Regions from separate parts of the Homo sapiens genome. Here all the other regions are linked to region 1. The links are contacts of gene promoters, found by promoter capture Hi-C in human tissues and cell types (Jung and others, 2019). All regions are on one chromosome and are shown on one strand. The core of a region is centred on a gene start or on the middle of the fragment in contact, and the rest is flanking DNA. Distances in the headings are between cores, read along the strand shown. Region 1 holds the start of RPL35A (ribosomal protein L35a). Region 2 holds the start of LOC105374309 (a long non-coding RNA gene). Region 3 has its middle 21 kb from the start of BDH1.

Evidence for each region. Contacts are between HindIII fragments. The study calls those that stand out against the background at their distance.
Region 2: a fragment that was not itself captured here is called in contact with the fragment with the promoter of RPL35A in region 1 in 1 of the 25 tissues and cell types used here (lymphoblastoid cells).
Region 3: a contact is called between a fragment that was not itself captured here and the fragment with the promoter of RPL35A in region 1, in 1 of the 25 tissues and cell types used here (IMR-90 fibroblasts).

Annotation. Positions count from the first base shown.
Region 1 is chr3:197,947,888-197,951,884 of GRCh38, forward strand. It overlaps RPL35A (ribosomal protein L35a), which reads left to right and starts at 2,303. Exons shown (of 5, transcript NM_000996.4): 1 at 2,303-2,334; 2 at 3,049-3,091; 3 at 3,272-3,424. The coding sequence starts at 3,081. The region is part of intron 2 of DRC9 (dynein regulatory complex subunit 9); the gene reads right to left. RefSeq lists enhancers at 1,706-1,925, 2,005-2,787, 3,571-3,997. The HindIII fragment of the contact is 11,846 bases long and covers 1-3,997 here.
Region 2 is chr3:197,475,971-197,479,967 of GRCh38, forward strand. LOC105374309 (a long non-coding RNA gene) reads left to right here and starts at 2,016. Exons shown (of 2, transcript XR_924902.1): 1 at 2,016-2,138; 2 at 3,218-3,681. RefSeq lists an enhancer at 2,328-3,527. The HindIII fragment of the contact is 3,417 bases long and covers 321-3,737 here.
Region 3 is chr3:197,574,900-197,578,896 of GRCh38, forward strand. No RefSeq gene overlaps it. Among named protein-coding and RNA genes, the nearest start is that of BDH1, 21 kb to the left of the region's middle. RefSeq lists an enhancer at 1,441-1,942. The HindIII fragment of the contact is 3,172 bases long and covers 407-3,578 here.

The DNA of each region.
Region 1 (3,997 bases), core at 1,053-3,552:
GGAGACTCCATCATCCCTTGTAGTTTCACTCCTGCTTTACCTTTTTTTTTTTTTTTTTTTTTTTTGAGACGGTCTCACTCTGTCACCAAGGCTGGAGTGCAGTGGCAGGATCTCAGCTCACTGAAACCTCCCCCTACCAGGTTGAAGCGATTCTTGTACCTCAGCCTCCCAAGTAGCTGGGATGACAGGCACACACCAACACCCCTGGCTGATTTTTGTATTTTTAGTAGAGACAGGGTTTCACTATGTTGGCCAGGCTGGTCTCAAACTCCTGACCTCAAGTGATCCACCCACCTCAGCCTCCCAAAGTGCTGGGATGACAGGCGTGAGCCACTGCGCCCGGCCCATACTTTGTTTTAAAAAGTATTCTTATCATGCTCTACTAATGGTCATCACCTGCAGTTTGAAAAATGCCTTAACTGACACTTGTCCAAGTGATCCTTTCGCTGACTCGTCAGGCCAGATCAGGCTTCTGGGCACTCATGCCACTACTTTCCCGCAGAGCTGTGTTCACAATTTGTTACGTTAGTGTCAGTTTCCCCCCACTAGACAACTGTTCCATGAAAGCAGCAACATGACAACGATGCTCACAGTTGTATCAGGTGCTAAGTCTCAGTGCTCAATAAGTATTTGTGGAACGAATAATACACGAGCAAACGAATGAAACTCACACTTAATGTGTTATTCCTCCCAGGAGGACTTCCATATAGAACTTTGACAAATCAATATCTAATAGTGAAATTTCTAGCACATTTCTTTCTGGGACAGGGAACACTGGGTGGGGTAGTAGGCTACAAGGTACAAGTTCTATCCTGTTGTATTTAAGAGAGGATCTGATTTTAAAAGTGACTTATATACATCTATTTCATACAACTTCGGAGTCATACTTTACTCTCTCTCATTCCTCATCCACCAGCAAATCTTGCCAGAATTTAAATATATTCAGAATTCCAGTACTCAATATCCTCTGTTTACACACCATCACCTCTCATCATAGTCACTACAGGAACCTATAATTATCTTCCTGCTGATACCCTTGCCTCCCTTCACTTTCAACACAGTGACTTTGTCAATATAGAAGTCAGATAGAGTCACCCTTCTGTTCAGGACCCTTAAATAGTTCCCATCTCAAAGCAGGGGAAGCCTCTTTTACATACTTCCCATCTCAAAGTGGGGAAAGCCTCTTTTACAGTGGCCTCTCTGCTTAATTTTCTTCACAGAAATTATCATCTTCTAACGTGTCATCTATTTTTACTTGCTCATTGTGTTGCTCCGCCTCGTAGGATATAAGCTCCACGAGGGCATAGATTTGTTTACTGCCGTGTCATCTTACACAAACCTTGGTACAGGGTAGTCATTCATTAAACTATGTGTTAAATAAATGAATGAATCCATAGGATAACCCAAATAAATATGCAATAATTCGGAAATGTGAATCTCTGGCGTCCACTAATCCACCTCTACAAGTATCTACGGAGGACCTACTAGGTGCGGACACGAGGCAGCTAAACGAGTTCTCCTAAAAGGGCGATAAAGCCTCCTGCAGGCAGTCCTCCTCATACCTCGGATCCAAAAAGAAGAATGGAGGTAAGAACTTAAGTCATTTCATTCATTTTTTTTTTCTTTTGTAGAGGTTGGGGGAGGTGGTCTCACTATGTTGCCCAGGCTGGTCTCGAACTCCTGGCCTCAAGCGATCCTCCCGCCTCGGCTTCCCAAAGAGCTGGGTTTACAGGCGTGAGCCACTGTGCCCAGTCTCATTTCTTGAAAGAGATAAATAAGTAGAGGGGAGAAAAGAAGTATAGAAAAAGAAAAAAGAGAAGGAAGAGGTCCTGCTGCCTTCGTGCTCCCGGCCTTTCTCTTCCATGCTAGATTAGGATCCCAGAATTTCCGTTCTGTCTATTGCTGTGTGTATCGAGAGAAAAGCACCCCACTGTTGGCAAATCAATCTTACAGTCAATCATTCTTTAGGCAGCGGGAACATCCTCCACTCAGGGTTCGCCTTTCCACCTACGGCGTCCGGGGACGCAGGAAGTAAACTAAGTTGTTTCTATGGCAACGCACAGCTTTGGCGGATTTAGCTGGCTACCATTTTGCCTTCCCTTGTTCCCAAGTAGTACATTTTGCAGCCTACCAAGATGAAAGGACTTAGGAAAATAATTGTAAGAGTGCTATTGAATGTGGCTTATTTCAGTGCGAAGCCGATTTCCGAGGATTGTTTTTCTGGCGTTTGGAGAAGATGCCTAAATTGAGGGCGGAGTCGAAAGATGTTTAATCCCACAAGGCCACGCGGCGGGGCCTCGTCCTTCTCTTACCGCCATCTTGGCTCCTGTGGAGGTGAGTGAAGGGTCTGCTGCTGAAATTTGGGGGCAAATAACCGGAGTAGGTTTGTTCCTGTGCCTTGGCGAGTCGCCGGTGCGTATCGGAGTCTCTGCCAGCCATTGATTTCTACGGGTTTCAAGAAGAGGGAGAACAGGATGGAGGAGATGTTGGGCTGATGGTGTTTGGTCCCCTGACACCCGGAGAACGGCTGCCCGGGTTATCCCAGTTAAATTCCTGGGCCTGAACGGAGTGAAACGATGTTTTTGTTCGTGTGCAGTTGTCCATGAGGCAGTGCTTCCTTCATCCGTTTCCTCCCAGTCCATACCTTCCTTGGCTTGTCTGACCAGTCTCTTTCCTCAGCTTTTCTCCCCCAGCCATTGCATAAAAGTCTTACGTGTGTGTTTCTCTTTAAGGCTTCATTTCTTTTCCTGAGTGTTGCCTACTGATAACGGCATGCATTTTCTCAGGCTTTTCTGAGAGTCATTTTTGTGACTCCTGTCCCTTAGTTTTGTCTTCATTCTGAAGTTTGCTTAGATACCAGCTGTTCTCTGAGGTTTGAATGTCTTGCCGGACCCTGCGTTTCATATGGATGTTCTGGCATTGTTGTCCCCGAACTCCTACATGAAACTCCCATCCAAAAGGAATTTGCTTTAGGGGCTTAAACGAGAGGGGACGAGGTGGGAAACTTGTGTGGCTTGGTTTTAAACTAATCTTTTTGTTTGTTTTAAGGCCTGCTGGGAACGGGACTTCTAAAAGGAACTATGTCTGGAAGGTACGCGTTTTAAATATAGTTCTTTATTTTTGTGTGTTAGACGTGAACGTAAATGCGAGCTTAAAATTGGCAAGAAAAAACTTAGATGTTTGCTCTGAGTAACTTTTGGGTGGGGGTGATTACAAGTCAGATTGGTTTTTTGAAGCTTATGTTTCATGTTGTGTATCTTTTGTGTCTTAGGCTGTGGTCCAAGGCCATTTTTGCTGGCTATAAGCGGGGTCTCCGGAACCAAAGGGAGCACACAGCTCTTCTTAAAATTGAAGGTGTTTACGCCCGAGATGAAACAGAATTCTATTTGGGCAAGAGATGCGCTTATGTATATAAAGCAAAGAAGTAAGTTTATGACACTGGTAGGTTTTGGGTTTTTGAGATCTGCCTCATTTTCTTTTTTATATAACGGAGTCTTGCTCTGTTGCCGAGGCTGGAATGCAGTGACTTGGTCTCCCTCACCGAAACCTCCGCCTCCCGGGTTCAAGCAAGTGTCCTGTCTCAGCCTCCCGAGTAGCTGGGATTACAGGCGCCGGCCACCACGCCCGGCTAGTTTTTGTATTATTAGTAGAGACAGGGTATTGCCATGTTGGCCAGGCTGGTCCCAAACTCCTGACCTTAGGTGATCCGCCCACCTCGGCCTCCCAAAGTGCTGAGATTACAGGCTTGAGCCACCGCGCCTGGCCTCATTATCCTATTGAAATAATAAACAAAAGATTTAGCTGAAGTACTTGGTATTGTTTTTTTGTTTTTGTGACAAGAGTCTCTGTTGCCCAGGTTGGAGGGCAGTAGCGCGATCTTGGCTCGCTGCAGCCTCTGCCTCCTGGCTCAAGCGATTCTCCTGCCTCAGCCTCCTGAGTAGCTGGGCTTACAGGGGTGTGCCACCACGCCCGGCTAATTTTTGTATTTTTACTAGAG
Region 2 (3,997 bases), core at 779-3,278, 470 kb before region 1:
TCTGAGCATCCCAGGACGATGCAAACCTCACTTCCCTTTACCTCAGACCCCTGGTTTGAATCCTGAAGCCAACCTCAGGGGGGTTGTCACTCATTCTGACCACCAATACTTTTGTGTGTTCTGGGCCTCCCCAGCCCTGTTCCTTGCCCTCCCTCTTCCTCTGTGTGGGTGTGCCCTCCTTCTCCCCTGTCTCTACATGTCCAAATACTATGTATTCAAGACTCAGAACAAAATGCTAGCTCCTCCAGGAAGCCTTCCTGGGTTCTCGAATTGGACATGATCTCTCCATCCTCAGTCCTTTTCCTTCCTAATTTCCCTGCCTCCTACGAGTGGGACTCTGGCCAATTTCCCTTAGTCAGTCAGGTAAAAGGCCCTGCTCGTGGTAGCTGGTCAGGAAATAAAGAAGAAAGGCAGGAAGGGTGGAAAGAAGGGGAGAAGGGAGACTCTACGGGCCCAGACAAGTGTCTACTGAATTCAGAACATGGCAGGGTCAGCAGACGATTTTCCTTTCTTCTCCTTTGTGTGCACTTCTGGGGCTGCTAATGACAAGTCACAGCACAGAGTGTGAAATCTGCCGCTCTCCCAGGGGGCTCCGTCTCAGGTCATTCTCCTCACTGCTTCCCACTCCCTCACTGAAAAGCCTGCATCCAAAGCCCATTACTGGCTCCAGGGTGTGGACCTTGCAGGGAAGAACTGTGTAAGGACAAGACAAAGAGCAGGGCTGAGTGCCGAGTGCCCGGTCAGTGGGGAGGGGGATGTGCTGTGGGATGAGGAGCCCCTGGTTCCTCATCTCCTGGTTTTATCCTCGTCCTCCCCGCCCAGCGAACACCCTCCTCACCCTAACCGTCTATCTTGTTGTTTCCTGTGAGTTTGGTGTCCTCTCCTTCCATTAAAGCTTCCATTAAACCTCTCTGAGGTTCAAGTCTCTGGTGGCCAGACCTATTGTCTTACACATTTAGACAATGCTCTTCTGCTCATGGGCAGCCATCAAATATATGTGTTGACTTATAAAAGATATACCATCTCTTTTTTTTTTTTTTTGAGACAGTCTATATGTGTTGAGTTATTAAAGATAGACTTTTTTTTTTTTTTTTTTTTTTTTGAGACAGAGCCTCGTCTGTCACCCAGGCTGGAGTGCAGTTGCACGATCTTGGCTCACTGAACCTCCACCTCGCAGGTTTAAGTGATTCTCCTGCCTCAGCCTCCTGAGTAGCTGGGACTACAGGTGCCCACTACCATGCCCAGATACTTTTTGTATTTTTAGTAGAGACGGGGTTTCACCATGTTGGCCAGGCTGGTCTTGAACTCCTGACCTCAAGTGATCCACCCACCTTGGCCTCCCAAAGTGCTGGGATTACAGGCGTGAGCCACTGCGTCCAGCCTATAAACCATTTCTTAATCCAAAGAGCTTGAAGTGCAAGGAGACCCTCCCCTGAAGGCAGGGCTGTCTCCTGGAGACATGGGTGAGGCATATTGGGGATTCAAGTGGCCGAGTCTTCTGCTTCATGCTGCCCAGGCATCCTGGAGAGCTGCCGGATGAAATAGAAGACACCCAGATAAATTTGAATTTCGGGTAAACAATGAAAGTAGTATACGTTTATCCCATGCAATATTTGGGACATACTCATACAAAAAATTATTCATCATTTATCTGAAATTCATTTTAAGTGGATATCCTGTTTTTTGTTTGTTTGTTTGTTTGTTTTTGAGACAGGGTCTCCCTCTGTCACCCAGTCTGGAGTGCAGTGGTGCAATAATGTTTCACTATAGCCCCGACCTCCCAGGCTCAAGTGATCCTCCCACCTTAGTCTCCTGAGTAGCTGGGACTACAGGTTTGCACTACCATACCTGGCTAATTTTGTTTATTTTTTGTAGAGACAAAGTCTCACTATATTGCCCAGGCTGGTCTCAAACTCCTGGACTCAAGCAATCCTCCCATCTCAGCCTCCCAAAGTGCTGCAATTACAGGCGTGAGCCACTGTGCCTGGCCCATCCCGTATTTTTATTTGCTTAATCTGGCAACCTTTCCTTAGAGGCTCCTGGAACGCGCCGCTGCAGTCATTCCGGCGCACCCAGTTAGAGCTCCTGCTCTGGGCCACTGAGACCAAAGAGAAATGGTGTCAGCTGTGAGAAACTTGGTAAGTTTGTAGATTGTTGACTTATTCCCTCCAAACAATTTTGCAACTAAAAAAGAAGGAATACTTTTTTAGAATTCCTTTTAAATGTAGGTTAAAATGTGTTTTGTCATATTGTATATGTTAGATATCATAGAATCTATTAAATTTAAACAGGAATTTACAATTTACAAGAGTGTGGCCACATACATTCTTTTTTTTTTTTTTTTTTTTTTGAGACGGAGTCTCTCTGTGTCACCCAGGCTGGAGTGCAATGGTGCAATCTTGGCTCACTGCAACCTCCACCTCCTGGGTTCAAGCGATTCTCCTGCCTCAGCCTCCTGAGTAGCTGGGATTACAGATGCCTGCCACCACGCCCAGCTAATTTTTGTATTTTAAGTAGATACAGGGTTTCACCATGTTAGGCAGGATGGTCTTGATCTCTTGACCTCGTGATCCACCCACCTCAGCCTCCCAAAGTGTTGGGATTACAGGCATGAGCCACCGCACCTGGCCATACATTCTTTACTCTCAAGATTATTCCCCAAAACACCTGGACAGGAAGGTAGACAATCACCACCTGTTTCATAGTTGAGGCACCCAAGGCCCAGGGAGTTAAATGATTTGCTGACAGTCCCAGGAATAGTTACAGTGCAGCCAAAGCAGGTCCTGAGGCTTAGGCTCCTGGTTCAATGCTCCTCACTCCTGTACAGCTTGCCTCCTGCTCAGGCTATTGGACTCCAAGTTAATTAGGCAGCAAAGAACTCTGGGAGGAGCTGAAAATGAGGGGAAGTGCCTGGAGAGGCTGGCATAGGGTGAGCAAAGCAGAATGGCATGTTTTAATTGATTTTTGATTGTGCCAACGACTGCAGGCTCCTAGGGCAAGCAACTGCTGCTTCTGAGTCAGCACCCTTGCGTGAGGCTCAGCCTTCCCAGAGTGCAGGCATTGCTGGCTCTTTTTGTTCTCCCCCGAGCTCTTTGTGTGGGAAGTGGGTCTGTACAAAGCAGAAGGTTTCTTCTTTAATTGGCCAAACAGCTGGGAGCCTGGAGTCCTGGGAATACGGTCCAGGGTCACCTACAGCTCTCCCCATCCTTCCACCCAGCTTATCCTGGAAGCCCCAAGAGACGCAGCTCTGCTGATGCAGCTAGACACAGCTCCGAAGACACCACAGGAAGCTTTGGAAGCACAATATACTTTGTGAAGAAATTTGAAAACTTCAGTGCTACTTAGCAAGTTTCTTGGCATTAGCAGTTATCCAGGGACTCCCAGCGGGTATCTACCCAGCTGGAGAAAGAAATATTCCAACAGGAAGGAAGAAACTCTCCAATCTCACTGCAGGCCTGGATATTTGGAAAGATCTCATCACCAGACAGGGTGAAGGACACTGGACTTTGACTTTTGGACTCACATAGCCAATGGCTTGCTTGGCGTCTTCACAAAGATATCTAACAAGCATCTCAACCCTAACAGAACTCTCGGTTCCTTCCCTCTCATCCCCAACATACGCCCCCACTAATGTTCCCCATTTCAATAAAATAAATGGTTTTGGCTTAAGCCAAAAGCCTAGACTCCTCCTCGATTCCTCTCTTTCTCACATCTCCACAGCCAACCTATCGGCAAGACCTTCTGGCTCAGCCATCACAAGGTATCTCGAATCTGTCCACTTTCACTCCTTCTTCATTGCTGCCATGTGCTTCCAAGCCACCAGCATCCATTCAAACAACTCAGTTAGGTCTGTCCGTGGCCACCCTGGCTCTATGACAACCCATTTTCCCATACAGCATCCCGAGACCCTAGGCGACCTGGCTGCTGTCTACCTCTCCCACAATGAGCTTCTCTTCCTTCAGGTAAGAACTGGAATGTTACATGACCCTGTTCAATT
Region 3 (3,997 bases), core at 743-3,242, 370 kb before region 1:
GAGAGATGTGTGGGTCCCAGATTGACAAGGAGCAGACTGGTGATGATTAATTTTACATGTCAACTTGGCAGGAGTGAAAATTGTAAATTCTTTTTCTGTAAAGGTTTTATTATGCAGAGGAGGGGCTCAGTCCTTGGCAGCTGCTTTCCTCATGGCGGCTCAGTACCCAGATATTTGGTCAAACTGATAGCCACGGGATGCAGCCAAATGCATTGGCAGGTGGGGGTGGGTCCCTGGTGAAACCCCACCTTCCAGCCAAAAACAGAGCTGAAAGGCTGGACTGCTGGTCCCAGACGAAACCCACGACTCAGACTTAGAACTTCTGTTCCTGTTTGCCCACCCTTTCCTGATTGATTCTTTCTGAATAATGCCTTTTAACCAGTTGAATGTTGCCTTTTCCAATACTACCTATGGCCTGCCCCTCCCCTATTCTGAGCCCATAAAAAGCCCCAGACCCAGCCACTTGGGGAGGTGAGAACCACCCGACTGTGGGGCTGGGGGGCCACCCCCTATGTCCCCTCTCCGCTGATAGCCATTCCGTCACTCAATAAAATTCTTCTCCACCCCCATCACCCTTCAATGTCCAGTATATCCTCATTCTTCTTGGTGTGGTACAAGAGCTCGGGAACCATTGAATGCAGGTACAACCTATAACACAGGCAAGCTGGGGCATGCCAGCCTGGCTGAGGGAGGTCTGGACAGGACATCGCCAGCTGGGGGTTTCCAGCTTGCAAAGTGACCAAGAACAAAAATCCTACCTCAAAACATTATTCTGGTTGTTTTTGTGAAGGTGTTTTTTGAATGAGATTTGACTGATGGAATTTGAGTAAAGCAGTTACCTCTATAATCTGGGTGGATTTCTTCCAATCAGCTAAAGGCCTTAATGGAAAAAGACTGACTTCCCCAGGAAAGGAAGAAATTCTGCAAGCAGACTGCCTTCAGATTCAAACTGTAACTCCTCCCTGAGTCTCCAGGGTCTTAGCCTACTCTACAGATTTTGGACTTACCATGCTGTTACAGGAAAGGGGTCCCAATCCAGACCCCAGGAGCAGGTTCTTGGATATCATGCAAGGAAGAACTCAAGGTAAGTCCATAGAGTAAAATGAAAGCTAGTTCATTAGGAAAGTAAATGATTTTTAAAAATGGCTACCCCATAGGCAGAACAGCCCTGAGGGCTGCTGGTTGCTTTTTTTTTTTTTTTTTTTTTTTGGCTATTTCTTGATGATATGCTAAACTAGGGGTGGACTATTCATGCCTCCCCTTTTTAGACAATTTAGGGTAACTTCCTGATGTTGCCATGACATTTGTAAACTGTCATGGCGGTGGTGGGAGTGTAGCAGTGAGGACCACCAGAGGTCACTCTCATGGCCATTTTGATTTTGGTGGGATTTAGCCGGCTCCTTTACTGCAACCTGTTTTATCAGCAAGGTCTTTATGACGTGTATCTTGTGACCTCCTATCTCATCCTGTGACTTAGAATGCCTAACCATCTGGGAATGCAGCCCAGTAGGTCTTGGCCTTATTTTACCCAGCCCCTATTCAAGATGGAGTTGCTGTGGTTCAAATGCCTCTGACAAAGCCTCTACAGTCGTATGAGACAATTTCTAAACTCTCTCTTTCTGTCTCTCTCTCTCCACACACACACACACACACACACACACACACACACACACACACGCGCACACACACCACTGTATATAGACTGGTTCTGTTTCTTTGGGGAACTCTGACTGATATACTCACTCAGTGTGGTCTGCTTCCTAGACTGGAGTCTGATACAACGTTGAAATAGATTCCTCTGCTGTGGAATTGGTCTGTCTGCGACCTGGAGCATAAGTCAGGTAGGGGCCTGGTCTCAGGCCAAACAGGACATGTGAAACTTGCTTTTCACCCCCTCCACCCCCTGGGGTCTCTGTAGTCCCTGCCATCCAGGTGCTCACAGCCCAAGGAAGGGAACAGACACATCCGCAGCTTCCTCCCTTCCAGGACAGCTTGGGCCCAGTGAGGCAAGTGAGGCATAGCCATGGAGCTCTGGGACGGGGAAGGAACTACTCCTCCAGCGTGGGGAGGGTCATGTAAATTAGGCAAAGCCATGGAGCTCTGGGATGGGGAGGGAACTACTCCTCCAGCTTGGGGAGGGTGATGTAAATTAGGCGTAGCCATGGAGCTCTCAACGGGGAGGGAGCTACTCCTTCAGGTTGGGGCGGGGAGGAGGGTAAGCTGCAGGAGACAAGGATGGCCAGGGAAGCTTAGTCCACGTTCACCGGCCTTTGTTCAGAGGGCACTGGAGGTGCATTAACTTTACACAAAAGCATCTCAAAGACCAAAAAGCCCTCAAGACCTAAAGAAGTGAGTCTCAAATGGTGGTGTTCCAGGTTCCTGAAAGAGATATTTTGAACAATGGGGCCTTCCCAAGCATCCCCCAGACCAAAACATATTATTAATTGGCAAAAAGAGAAAAAGAAGATCTCAATTAAATAAAAAGGAGCATGACTACTTTCAGTGTCACCCTTCCTTCTCTCACCATTGTCTACCAGCTCCGTCATTACCCGTTTTCCTCAAAGATGTTTGCTTCAGCCTCTCCCATCCTTTCCCCTCCCTTCTCCCCGTTCAGTCACCCAGACGCTCTCCTGTTCACCACTTACACGCAGCTCCCTGGTGCATCCCTCTGCACCCAGCATTACAGGGAGGCCGGGGGAGGAGCTAGCAAGGACCGGATCACCAGGGGGTTGCTGTCAGGACTACCCTTTCCAGCAGCTCCAGGTGGTACCTTGGGACCTGCCCAAAGGCAAACACTTGGAGAAGGTTCTGTCTCAGGAGGGTGATGCAGGCTGTGAACAGGGTGTCCGCTGTGGCCTGAGCCAGTGGCCAGACTGGAAGGAGGAGAAATGAAGAAGCTGAAGAGAAGAGACTGGGGAATGGCTGTGGGGGAGGCTGGGGAGCTTATCTCCTCCAGGTAATGTGTCTTCAGGGGCGTCTCTCTGACTCACGGCAGATTCACTGGGTAATGGGTGTGTTCTTAAGGCAACGCAACCACCCAGCAACACGTCTTTTTTAGGAAGCCCTGGCCAGCCAGGGTATCTCTAGGTTGTCCTGGTTTAGCATTGCCTCCTAGCCGGAGACTTCTTGAGGCTGACTAAAGGTTGCTGGAAGCTTTCTTGCTTCTTCATCCCTCCTACTTCCTCAGGTTCTGCAGCCAGGCTCCAGTGCAGGAGAAATTCAGCTTCCCTCGCTCAACATCCTGCTTCCTCTCTCCAATCATTAGGTCAGGTCTGGGGAGATGAAGGATGTAGGACACAAGTTGGGGTCAATTAGGGGAAGTCAAGGAGAGTATGGGGCATGAGGAATGCACAATAGGGATATTGGGGAGAGCTGGAAACAAAAGACCACCAGATTGAGTAGCCTAGTCTCCCAGTGCTGACTGAGCTAGAAGGCAAGGCTCAACTGGCAGTGGGAAGAGAAGTGAGTTCAGACATGCCAGGCTGTCCTTAGAGGTTATCCCTTGAATGGCTGCGTATCATCCTCATGATGTGAGGCTGTGGCTGCCACAGCAGGGGAGCGTGGAAACCGTGCTTGCAGGAAGAGTGTGTTCTTCACGATGTGAGGCTGTGGCTGCCATAGCAGGGGCCCGTGGAAACCATGCTTGCAGGAAGAGTGTGTTCTGACAAGCAGAGGCTGGCTCAGGAGATAAGCCCCCACCCCCACACAAAAATAATAGAGCTCCATCCAGAGTTGAGGGGACTGCAGCCAGAAGGCAGAGTTCAGAGTCATATCCCAAAGGGTGCCAAAGAGAGACATCCCATCAAGACACTGCAATGGCGAGGACAAAAGGCAGGAAAAAGAAATGAAGTATAAATAAAAGAAGACAAACCACCATTACTCAGGTACTAACTAGTATTATTAACCCAGAATATTTAGGAAAGTCAGCGCTAAAATTATTAGAATAATAATGGAATTCAGGAAATTGGTTGAATACAAAACAAATGCAGGGAAAAAT